Linked DNA regions of Homo sapiens: region 1 is linked to region 2. Evidence: promoter capture Hi-C in 16 types of primary human blood cells and fetal thymus (Javierre and others, 2016). All regions are on one chromosome and are shown on one strand. The core of a region is centred on a gene start or on the middle of the fragment in contact, and the rest is flanking DNA. Distances in the headings are between cores, read along the strand shown. Region 1 overlaps LOC105375470 (a long non-coding RNA gene). Region 2 holds the start of THAP5 (THAP domain containing 5).

Region 1 (6,241 bases), core at 1,970-4,469, 9.6 Mb after region 2:
ATGTCCCCAACAAACAGCTGTCTTTAATAAGAATTATCTTTTTGTTTTCAAAAAATCTCTCTGCTGAGATTTTGTTTCAATTCACTGCATTATTTTGACAAGTTGGTGATTTTCAATTTAGTTTCTGGTGCATATGTTAAAATGCAGATCATTATTTTTGATCATGCCACATGCATGAAAAATTCCATTATGTGAGTAATTATCACATGGGGTAAAGACTTGGAAAAGTTCCTGCATATTCTTTTTGTTGTTATTTTTCATTTCTTTTCCTGCATATTCTTGACAGAAATTCTAAAAACAATAGGTAGTAGGGTAGGTAGGGAGGAAACAATACAGACTTTCTCTGAAGTCCTCTGAGGTTTTGTTATGTCTGTTTATTCTCAGTGCAAGAGGTCAAGTTCAGAAAAATGGAAGAATCATATCTCAAAGCTAGTCAAAAATGGGCATTATGAGAATACATGAGGCCGGTCAGAATGATGAATTGGTAATATAAAAGCTCTGGAAATCTCATTTGTTGACATTAGAAAACAGCGGTCTGCAAACTTTCTGTAAAGAGCCCGATAATAAATATTTTAGGTCTTGTGGGCGTCTGTTGCAATTACTCAACTCTGCTGTTGTAGCCTCAAAGCAGCCATAGATGATATACAAATTAATGATTGTGGTTGTGTGCCAATAACATTTACTAACAGAATGATTTCCCCAAGGTTTGTAGTTTGCCAACCCCTGTTAGAGAAAATAGTAATGATACAGATACTTAATATTGAAGAAATGGAAAAAATGCCACAGAGGCAGAAAAGTGTTGAATCTGTCTCTTCCTCTTTGTAAAGAGTTAGGCCCAGGAATCTGAGGAAACAGTCACAACTACTCAAATCTGAATAACCTTAAGTGATCCTCTGTCTATATATGTTGGTTATTTCTTGACACTACTGTGAATTTTTCCTGGGCAACAATCTCAATGGCAGTGCAGCACATTGGAGCTTGACTGTCTAGGTTTAAAGACTGGCTCTGTTAATTACCAACAAAATGAGTTCGGGCAAGAAACAAAACCTAGAGAAAAAAAGAGCAGAAACCACTGGAGTAACAGAGGTGTGGAACACAGTAGGTACTTGACGAAGATGACTTAAGATTTATGTAAAGACTGAACATGTACCACTACTTGTCATGACAGTGGAGCATCCACTTTATAAGAATGACAGTATAATGAGAAAAACACACAAATATATTAAATAATACTTTGAAGAAACTCACCTTTTACTTAATGTCACCACAGAGGAAATTCTGGGTAGAAGTTTAGAATTTACAAAGACTTTGTGCCACAGAAAAAGATGGCCATGAGCAATAGTACTTAAGTTGCTTAGAATGAATAAAAAATGTTCAAAACCTCCTATGTACAGTATAGACACTTTACTTTTATCCAGGAAGACAATAAATTAAGAGGTTGCATATCTGTATCACTTTGTATTCCTTCCATAACAAATCGCCACAAACTTAGTGGCTTAAAACAACAAAACTTTATTAACTTACAGTTCTGTAAGTCTGATATGGGTCTGACTGGACTTAAATCAAGGTGTTAGTAGAATGTATGCCTCCAGAAGGAGGCTGTAGGGAAGAATCCATTTCCTGCTCACTTAGATTTTGGCAGAATTCAGTTTCTTGCTGTTGTAGGACCAAGGTCCCTGTTTTCTTGCTGGCTATAAACTAAGAGCTGTTCTCAGCTTCTAAAGATAACCACATTTCTTGGCTCATGGCCCTCTTCCTCCAACTTCAAAGCCCATCAACAGCAGGACAAGTCTTTTCATGTCACATCTCTCAGACCCACTCTTCTGATTCCCTCTTCCGCATTTAAGGACTCATGATTAGAGGGGGCCAGCTGAGTAATCCAGAATAACCTCACCATCTCGAGGTCCTTACCTTCAATCACATTTGAAAAGTGCTGTTTGACATGTAAAGTAACAATCACAGTTCCCAGGGATTAGGATGTGGACATCTTTGGGGGTTGGGGGGGTAGGAGAGATTATTCTACCTTCCACAATATCTTAGTTGCCTTTCCTATTCTTCCCATTGGTAGTGACATCTGAAAAATGTCAACCTGCCTTTGAGTATTTGGACTCAAAGGTATACATATTCCTTCTGATTTCCGAAAAAGTCTACATACAATAGCAATGACGTATCCATGGATATGCGCTGATCATATGTACATATAAACTCAAAATTTTGTCCTTCAAGTAGAACAGTTACTTTTATTATTAACTATTGTAAGAAGCACTGAACTAGAATCCAGGAGGCCTTGATTGTAGGTTCTACTATGTAACCCTAAAAGAGTCAATGAACTTATTTGGGATTCAGTTTCCTAATCCACATGACACAGAATGTAAATTTGAAAATTCTTAGGTTCCCTTTTAGCTCTAAATATCTGTGATCCATAGTCTGAAAGAAAAAGGGTGGAAGTGGGAGAGTCATTCTGATTTGTTACAAAAATGAAACAAAACTTATATAATGAGAATTTATCAAAAATAAGGGAAAGCCTTGATTTTTTTCTGCCCCATATGTTTTTAATTTAAAATTTTTTTTTAATATTTAGGGGGTACAAGTGCAGCTTTCTTACATGCATATATGAAATCTGGGCTTTTAGTGCACCCATCACCTGAGTAGTGAGCATTGTACCCAATAAGTAATTTTCAACCCTTATTTGCTCCCCATGTGTTTTAATGTAATTTCAGGCATTTGCTTTCTATTGGTCACTCAAGGTTATTTATGTTTAGCTTTTGTCAATGTAATTCTTATACTTCACTCTCACTATTCCATTTACATTTCTATATACCTTCTTACATTATTCATCTCTCATTGCCTAACCTCAGTATTTTTCTCCAAAAAAAAAAAATCAATAAATTAGCATTGCTCTACCTTGCCATACAATGTCTGCAACAAGTCCAAATCAATCTGTTCCTTCTGTGTGGATTATAACATTAAGGAATGAATTCAGACTGAAGATCCTAGTGACCTAAGTAATTTCTGATATCAATATTATTTTCCAATTTTGGCATGCAAAAAATTCAATGGAAATGACAGTATAATTTTACCTGTATTGCAATCCAAGCTGCTAAAGACAATTTTTAAAAGCCAAGCAAAACAATAAAAAAGAAAGCAAATGTACTCAGCTTAAAATAAAGTTCCCTAATCTGGTTCACTATAGTGATAACACATACATGGTAATTTATTTTTTAAAAAAAGATATTGAAAAATGATCAGGTATGGGTGCTCCATTTGGATTAGTCATATGCTGTATGTGCTATTTAAATAAAGCTGCCCAAGTTATACGAATTCAAGTACCCTTCTAGGGCAAAGTCAGAGGTGGAAGAACTGCCTACCTAAAGAATTACTTGGTGCTAAAGGACAGTATGAACCACAGAAGGAGATAAGTAAAACAGGGGCAGGATGACATTATTTAAACTCCAGATTCTCAGTGGAATACTAACATAGTCTGTTATGTTACAGTATTGTCTTTTTTATTTTTTATTTTTGAGACAGGGTCTAGCTCTATCACCCAGGCTGGAGTGCAGTGAGAAGATCTTGGCTTACTGCAATCTTTGCCTCCTGGTCTCAAGGAATCCTCCCACTTCAGCCTCCTGAGTAGCTGGGACTACAGGTGCGCATCATCACGCCTGGCTAATTTTTTGTAGTGACAGGATTTCACCACATTGCCCAGGCTGGTCTGGAACTCCTGAGCTCAAGTAATCTGCCTGCCTTGGCCTTCCAAAGTGCTGGGGTTAAAGGCATGAGCCACTACACCCAGCCGAGTACTGTTTTTTATAGTACACATGAGGTCACATGAGATTGTTAAACAGGAGAGTAATGTTAGAATAATAGGGAAAGTGGGTTGGTTCATACATAATTTTTCATAGCACTTTAATGCTTTGTAGTACAAAGACACAATAGCTGAAGTACAATTATTGCACTTAGTTTTGTGATTGAACCAGGCCTGGGGGAGTATAGCACTCAAATGATGACCTTTCACGGTGTGGGACCCCATTCTTCCCTGGGCTTGGTTCAGCCATATGCTCCATTTTGATAGTGCTTATTTTGCAGCTCCCTCACATCTTTGGGCAAAAGCGACATCAGACAACGAGTCAGAGCCATCCATCTCTGGCAACTCCACATTTCCTGCAAAGTTTGCAACTGCTTCTCCATCTGCTACTTCTGATGATCTCCCGCCCTTGTTTCCATCACTCATCAGTGTCTACCCTTCTGTAAACTGTCATTCTTTAAGCAACCTTCAACTTTTTTAAAAAGGTAAAACTCTTTAAGTTAATATAACATTGCTTTATTTGTTAGGAGTTTTACACGTCCTTCTAAATGAACTACTATTTTCATTTCGGTTGTTATTGTCTGTTAATACTACAGTTCAGTGGTTGCCAGACTTTGTTGTTTATTAGTTAACTACGGATGTTTTAGAATACTGAGGCCCAGCTGAACCTCATTCTATTTAACTCAGAATGTCTTGAGTGTGGGAGCCAGCTATCAGTTTTTAAAGATCATATCAGTAAGTAGCAAAGTTTGGGAACCACCGCTCAGTTGTTCAGAGTTTGAGAGGGCTTTCCCAGACTTATTTTTTCCTTAGGCTCTTATTTTAAGTGAGCCATTTTCTTAAAATGTGAAGATTTTCAGGAATGTATTATACACAGCATATTATAGCCAGAATGTTTTGTCATTTTTTGGCTTCTGCTGTGGTCTGGATACTGGTGTCCTCCAAAATTCATATGTTGGAACCTAATATCCAATATGATAGCATTAAGAGATGGGGTCTTTTGGGAAGTAAGTCATAAGGACTCTGCCCTCATGAACAGGATTAGTGCCCTTACTGAAGAGGTTGAACGGAGCAGCCTTGCCCCCTTCTGCCATGTGAGGATGCAGCAAGAAAGTGTCATCTATAAGGAACAGGCCCTCATCAGACACAGAGTCTACTGTTGCTTTGATCTTGGATTTCTCAGCCTCCAGAACTGTAAAAAATAAATTTTTGTTGTTTATAAATTACCAAGTCTAATGTATTTTGTTATAGCAGCCCAGTTTCCAAAATAAAAATAATGTAAAGGGAGAGCAGGATTTGGGGAGTAAAAAATGGCTGGTAAAAAAAAAAAAATTTTTTTTCTTTTTTTTTTTTTGAGACCAGTCTCAGTCTGTCGCCCAGACTGGAGTGCAGTAGCATGATCACGGCTCACTGGGCTTAAGTGATCCTCCCACTGCAGACTTCCAAGTAGCTGTGAATACAGGTGTGGGCCACCATGCACAGCTAATTTTTGTATTTTTAGTAGAGATGGGTTTTTCCCCATGTTTCCCAGGTTGGTCTTAACCTCCTGGGCTCAAGCAATCTGCCCACCTTGGCCTCCCAAAGTGCTGGGAATACAGGTGTGAGCCACTGCACCTGGTCTAAAAATTTTAATAATAAAAATCAATTTTAAAAATACCATAAAGAATGCATAAAAGCATACGTAAGTATTTTATTAATATATATTGCCCCTTATGAGGTGAAACAGAGGGCCTCCTGAGATATACCGGTTCTCCAGATCTTTAAGGTAAAGTATATGCCCGTGTAAGTATCACCAGTATGTTCCGTGGCCTTGCCATTGGCTAGTGAGCAAAGTGTATCATGTTTACACAGTTCTACAGATTGGCCCCATCTACTTTGTTAACAAGCAGTCTTGCCTTTTCCTGTGTCTCCCTAATCTTGCTAACCTCTGATTCACCAACCACCATTACTATGCCACCTAGGATTTGCTGTCTGCCTCATTTCTTTTCTTTTCCATTTTTAGATAGGGTTTCACTCTATTGCTCAAGCTGGAGGGCAGTAGCTCCAACATGGCTCTCTGCAGCCTCAACCTCCCTGGCTCAAGCTATCCTCCTGCCTCAGCCTCCCAAGTAGCTGGCACTACATGTGCATGACACCATGCTCAGCTAATTTTTTTTTTTTTTGGTGGAGATGGGGTTTTGCCATTTTGCCCAGGCTAGCCTCAAACTCCTGGACTCAAGCAATCTTCCTACCTCAGGCTCCCATAGTGCTGAAATTACACGTGAGCCACTGGGTCTGGCCTCATCACCTTTCTTAAGCTCTGTCTTCAAATCACTTTTTTTCTGCCTCTCCATTCTTTTATTACTTATTAACCTCTGTGAGCACAGAATATGCCTCTCCATTCTTACTGCTACAAATCAGAAACGCATATCTGAACTCCTGCTGGCCTTTTTATCT
Region 2 (5,428 bases), core at 2,623-5,122:
TTGTCTTCAGGCAAAGAAAATATTGTTGGAACTGCAGTTTGTTTTAAATATCGAATACCCCATCTGATGTCAAGAGAGTCAGGAGTAAAATGGTCACTACATAGAAACTGGTATTTACTGGGAACCCATGAATCTCGCTTCATATTCTTTAACCACTTTTCCAGTCTTTCTTTGTCATGTAGAGGAAATCTGGAATTTAAAAAAAAAAGAAGAAAAAAGGAAAAACTTTGCTATATTTTTACAATTTTGCCAAATTCCCACCCTATATATCTGGGTAACCTATGCATCAAGTAAGTACTACAAGAGGAAGGCAACCATCCCTACCAAATAAGAGCATCTTCATGACAACTAGTACCATTATCATCTCTGCAGTAAGAGGCCTAAGATGTAAGACATGTAGCCAAGGCTCTTATCTGATAAGAGCTGAACATAATTCAGAGTCCCTTCAAGTAAAATATATGTGTTCCTATAAAGGACAAAATCTATTTGTATTTTCTATGGATTATGTTCCATTTTTATATTGCTGTACAGTTTGCCTAGAACTAGAAAAAAGGTTTGTATAAATTATAAATTCCTATTCAAATGTATTTCATAATACCACCACATGTCAAATGGCTTGTTGTCTATAATTCAAGGCAGTATTAAGCTTTACAATCTTATTTAATATTTAAAAAATAAGATGTTATTTCAAACAAATGATTTAGCTGAAAAAGTACTGAAAATATTCTCTTTACTAGCATCATCTTTAATTCTATCTATAAGTAATCTAGTCTAATAGTACTACACTTCTATAACCAATGAACTGGGAACTCCAAATTTCAAGTTCTGAAGGAGAAACTGATAGAAGAAAAGAATGGAACATGTTAAAAGGGACAGTCTCAGATATTTTATATGAAACAAATCAAATACAAATGGCAAGACAGCGCTGTATACATTTTGTTCCTGTACCTGACAATAACCTGGATTTAAAGTTGGTGCTAACATTACAGTGTATGGCAGAATTTGATAGAAAATTTTTCCTATCAATCTAAAAAGGTTTGGGTCAAGGTATACAAAACAATATTTGAAAATGGTTTATATTCCATTTGGTACTTTTCCAAGAACAGAGTCCAAGACACCACATAATTTCCTGTTTTTAAAAATAGTAACAATATAAGGTTTCTCATATAAAATGTAGCTGTTATACACTCCCTTCCCGCAATCCCAATCATTTAGCTTATGTTTTGTAGTAGCATCATTTTTTCCCCCTAAATTCTGGTAACTTTTTAAGATGCCATGGAAAGTCTGGGTACTCTGTAAGATATAACTTTTAATCCTGATATCCTCATACGGAAAAAAATCAGATAAACTACCTTTGGAAATTCCAACCACAGAAGCAATATTAATCATGTTTTAAAAATATTTTAACTTTACAAATATTAGGTTGTAAGTATGACAAGCATAACCAGAAAAGGAATTTTAAAGGCAGACAAATTTTCTTTTAGAGGACCTGACTTCTTCTGGCCATTGGTAAATTCATTTCTTTTGTTACAACTGAAATGAGAATAGGCCTTTTACAATAATGCTTTTTACTGTAAATTCATGTATATGGATGCTGTTTGCAAATTATTTCCATTGTACCTATATGCTAAGTTATCAACTCATTAAAAAAAACTTTGTGAATATCCTTATTGTTTACTGGATTGTATTGCTTCAATAGGTAAATCTCTAAGAAATCTTGATCATGTTTCCTGAATAAATTATGTCTTTATATTGGTTCAATTCATTTGATAATTTTGTTTCATTGTCTTATGTAATTCCCCAAAAGGCATAAGATAATCACAGTACAAACTGGACACTATATTAACTGAATTCCCAAATTCATATACATTTAAACTACAGTTTGCTGTAGTGTTAACATGAGCAAATTCAATTCAAGTTTGACGCTACTGGAGAATAAAACTAATTCAATTTTTATTTTGTGGATTACACAAGAAAATTTTTTAAAAACCCTAGAAATAATACAACTTTTACTAAATTCACATTTTCAGTGAAAAAAATCTTTACAATTCACTTGCATTATTTTTTCCTTCCTAAAAAGTTACTGTAAGGTCCACAAAGTTTAGTTAAAAATTTCAGTGTGGGGTTATACCCCATCTCCAATATCAAAGGCCAAATAAATCTGGGAAATACGGGGTTAAATCAAGTTCAACATGATCTTTTGCTACAAACATTCTCAGAGATAGAGCCATTAGTACAGTAGTATTTCCCTATAAACTGAAAGTGGATTAGATTGTTTTCCTCCCCCAAACATCTCTTTGCATCTTGAGGCTGGGCTTCAAGGGAGACAATCCTGGAAATATTGCCATGGATTGTGAATTACTTGGGGTTATCAGTTTTTTTTTCTTTTGAGACGGAGTTTCGCTCTTGTTGCTCAGGCTGTGGTGCAATGGTGTGATCTCGGCTCACCTCAACCTCCACCTCCCAGGTTCAAGCGATTCACCTGCCTCAGCCTCCCGAGCAGCTGAGATCACAGGCATGCGCCGCCACGCGCAGCTAATTTTGTATTTTTAGTACAGACGGGGTTTCTCCATGTTGGTCAGGCTGGTCTCAGACTGCCGACCTCAGGTGATCTGCCCGCCTCAGCCTCCCAAAGTGCTGGGATTACAGGCGTGAGCCACCGCGCCTGGTGGGGTTATCAATTTTTTTTCCATTAATTAAAATACTGGAAAGCAGCCGAATCATTAATGAATAAGTCCTTCAGGTCTAAAGTAAAATGAGCACAAAACAACTGCTGAAAATCTGAACCAGGTTAGATCTAAATGAATTGTTTTTAAATACAAGAAAAAATGGAAATGCAGTATTTTAAATATGTTGCTTTTCATGTGTTATTAATCATGTGAGTACTATTAACATCTCCATGTTACAGATGAGATATGTGAGACACCAAAGCTTAAATACTTTCCAAGAGGTCATTAAGCTACAGAATAGTGGAACCAGGATCTAGCATTGAAGCCTGGACCCCTAATTATTATACGACACTGCTTGTCTGTACTTCTGAATAAAAATCAGTGCTTCAGTAGTTTGATGGAAATATATCGTGGCTCTAGTAATTCAGAGTAACAGAATAAAACCTTGTTCTCCGCAGAGTATCTACAGCCCTAAGCAGAAGACTAGTTTATAATTCTGGCTCTGACACTAAACTTTCAAGGTCGGTTACCTAATCATTCCGGGCCTCAGTTTCCTCAGGAGAAAAGTGGGATGAAATTATACCTATGCGACCTACCTCGCGGGGGGTGTAAATTAACTTTGCGTGCACCTTTCCACTTCGCAGGTTTCACGTATCTTAAATGGTGGTTAATGTTGTTCAATGAAATGAGATCACGTGAAGTGGGGAAAAGACTGAAAACCACAGAAGCCCGCGCAAACTTTACTGTTTTAACTGTTAACACCCAAACAGGCTCCTGGGCCTCGCCACCAGCCAGCAGTCCTCGCGCAAGAAGGGCATTGCTAGCTAAACTGAACTAGCGCCTTCCCTCCGTCTTGCCGCGGGCGACGGGCCACGTACGGAGAGCTGAGGACTCACTGGCAGAGCGGACAGGAGACACCCAAGCCCAAAGGCCACAGGTCCAAGGCCTCACGGCGAGGCTGACGCTTCTGCTCCAGAAACAACTTACGGATAAAAACTCAGCTTCCGGTCTTTATTGTTTCGTCCCCGGCGGTTCTTACAACAAATCGCTGCGCAATAGCGGGGCATGACTCGGGTGAGGCCCCTGGAGACCGGGGCCGGCGACGGATGCAGGGCGGCCCTCCTCACTGAGGATGCGCCACAGGTCCAGGCCTCTCGAGCCCCTGCGCCTGCGCTAGCATTCTGCCGGGAAAGCCGCCTCGTCTGTCGACTCACTTCCGCCTCCTCCGGTTTAAGCACCGCCTTTTCGGGGGTTGAAGCCGGAAGTGGCGCACAGCCCTAGCAGCAACAACAGTTTTCCACGTGCGCGTAGGGCGCCGGGATCACGTGGGGAGGCAGAAGCCAATGGGGAAGCGTTTCGTGTAGGTCTTCTGAGGTGGTGGCGCCAGCGGCTACCTCCTGCCTGTGAGGAGCTGGCTGAGAGGGGACTGGGCGCCGGCGGGGAAGGAGGAGCGCTAGGTCGGTGTACGACCGAGATTAGGGTGCGTGCCAGCTCCGGGAGGCCGCGGTGAGGGGCCGGGCCCAAGCTGCCGACCCGAGCCGATCGTCAGGGTCGCCAGCGCCTCAGCTCTGTGGAGGAGCAGCAGTAGTCGGAGGGTGCAGGTGAGGGACGAGGCCGGGGTCGTGGGGAGGGGAGTTCGGAGGGTCCCCGTAGCCCAGGCCTGTCTTTGTGAGCTGACTTGGCCTCGGTGTCCGCCACGGTCGCCGCAGGGACAATGGGCTGCATGTTTTTGGCCGAGAGAATGGAAGAACGGAGACAGCCGCATCACAGAATCGTGTTTTGGGTTGTGGCGCCGGCTTTCACGGGCGCCGGATTAGAGCCCGGGTCTCGGGCAGCTTCTGCGGCGGGGCCTGGGCGGGCAGGGAAAGTGCCAGTCGCCTTTAGGTGAAGGTTGGAGGGTCTAGCCCAGCCGCCCACCGAGGCTGGGGAATAAGGCACGGGCTGCTGGCTGGCGGGGCCGTCTTGGGGATGAGAAGTCTGTACAATACAAAACTAGTCTGCTAAAAAAAAATCATTAGATGTCCACCTTGAGACCGTGGAATAACGTCTGCTGAACCAGTGAGGCGCCTCCCTGTCAGTTTTAGATCCGCCCTTTGACTAGGGAGCAACCTGCAGTTGACGCAGCGTCCATGGGACACACTGTTGTGTTCCTTAAACCGAGAAGTGGTTCTTGATTCTTGGTACCCGTGACTACGAGTAACTCTCTGGAAATAAGTAATCTACCTGCCTGCTAATTACTCTCAGGAAAGGCCGCTGGAGAGGAAGCCAGGCAATTTCCACAAACCGTAGTGTTTTTCGTCAGCCTTATTATGGCATTATAGGTTACTAAGGACTCTGGTGGTCCCGTATTCAAAAAACAGGATCCATCCCTTCGTTTTGAATCTCAAGTCATTGAATACATATTGTCAAGAATTCTAAGTTAACATTTCTTTAATGGTTTAAAGGTAAAAGAAATATTTTAACTACTGAGTTTGTGAAAGTAAGAATCTGCCTTAACCACAGTACAAACTATCAAAGTTCATTTTTCTGGCAGCTTTAGCAGAAATCTTAAATTCTGTTCATCATGAGTTTTAAACAATATTTAGCCATGCTTCCTGGTTAAACATTTGGGATCTTACATTTGGGAAAAAGACAACATTCTATTGTATTGTCAGTATTAGTATTGTGATATTAAGATTCTCTATTTGCAGTCCTTGGCTCACCTGCTGAAATGAAAGCTGAATTTTTGGAGCGAGATTAATAATACTAATTTAGATATA

Evidence for each region. Contacts are between HindIII fragments. The CHiCAGO score rates a contact against its expected background, and 5 or more counts as called.
Region 1: a contact is called between a fragment that was not itself captured here and the fragment with the promoter of THAP5 in region 2, in 1 of 17 cell types (total CD4 T cells). The highest score is 8.7, in total CD4 T cells.

Annotation. Positions count from the first base shown.
Region 1 is chr7:118,174,169-118,180,409 of GRCh38, forward strand. The region is part of intron 1 of LOC105375470 (a long non-coding RNA gene); the gene reads right to left. Among named protein-coding and RNA genes, the nearest start is that of LSM8, 6.9 kb to the right of the region's middle. The HindIII fragment of the contact is 7,095 bases long and covers 1-6,241 here.
Region 2 is chr7:108,565,834-108,571,261 of GRCh38, forward strand. It overlaps THAP5 (THAP domain containing 5), which reads right to left and starts at 3,873. Exons shown (of 3, transcript NM_001130475.3): 1 at 3,657-3,873; 2 at 1-189. The coding sequence starts at 3,736. DNAJB9 (DnaJ heat shock protein family (Hsp40) member B9) reads left to right here and starts at 4,041. Exons shown (of 3, transcript NM_012328.3): 1 at 4,041-4,270. RefSeq lists enhancers at 3,456-3,935, 3,469-4,196. The HindIII fragment of the contact is 6,219 bases long and covers 2,930-5,428 here.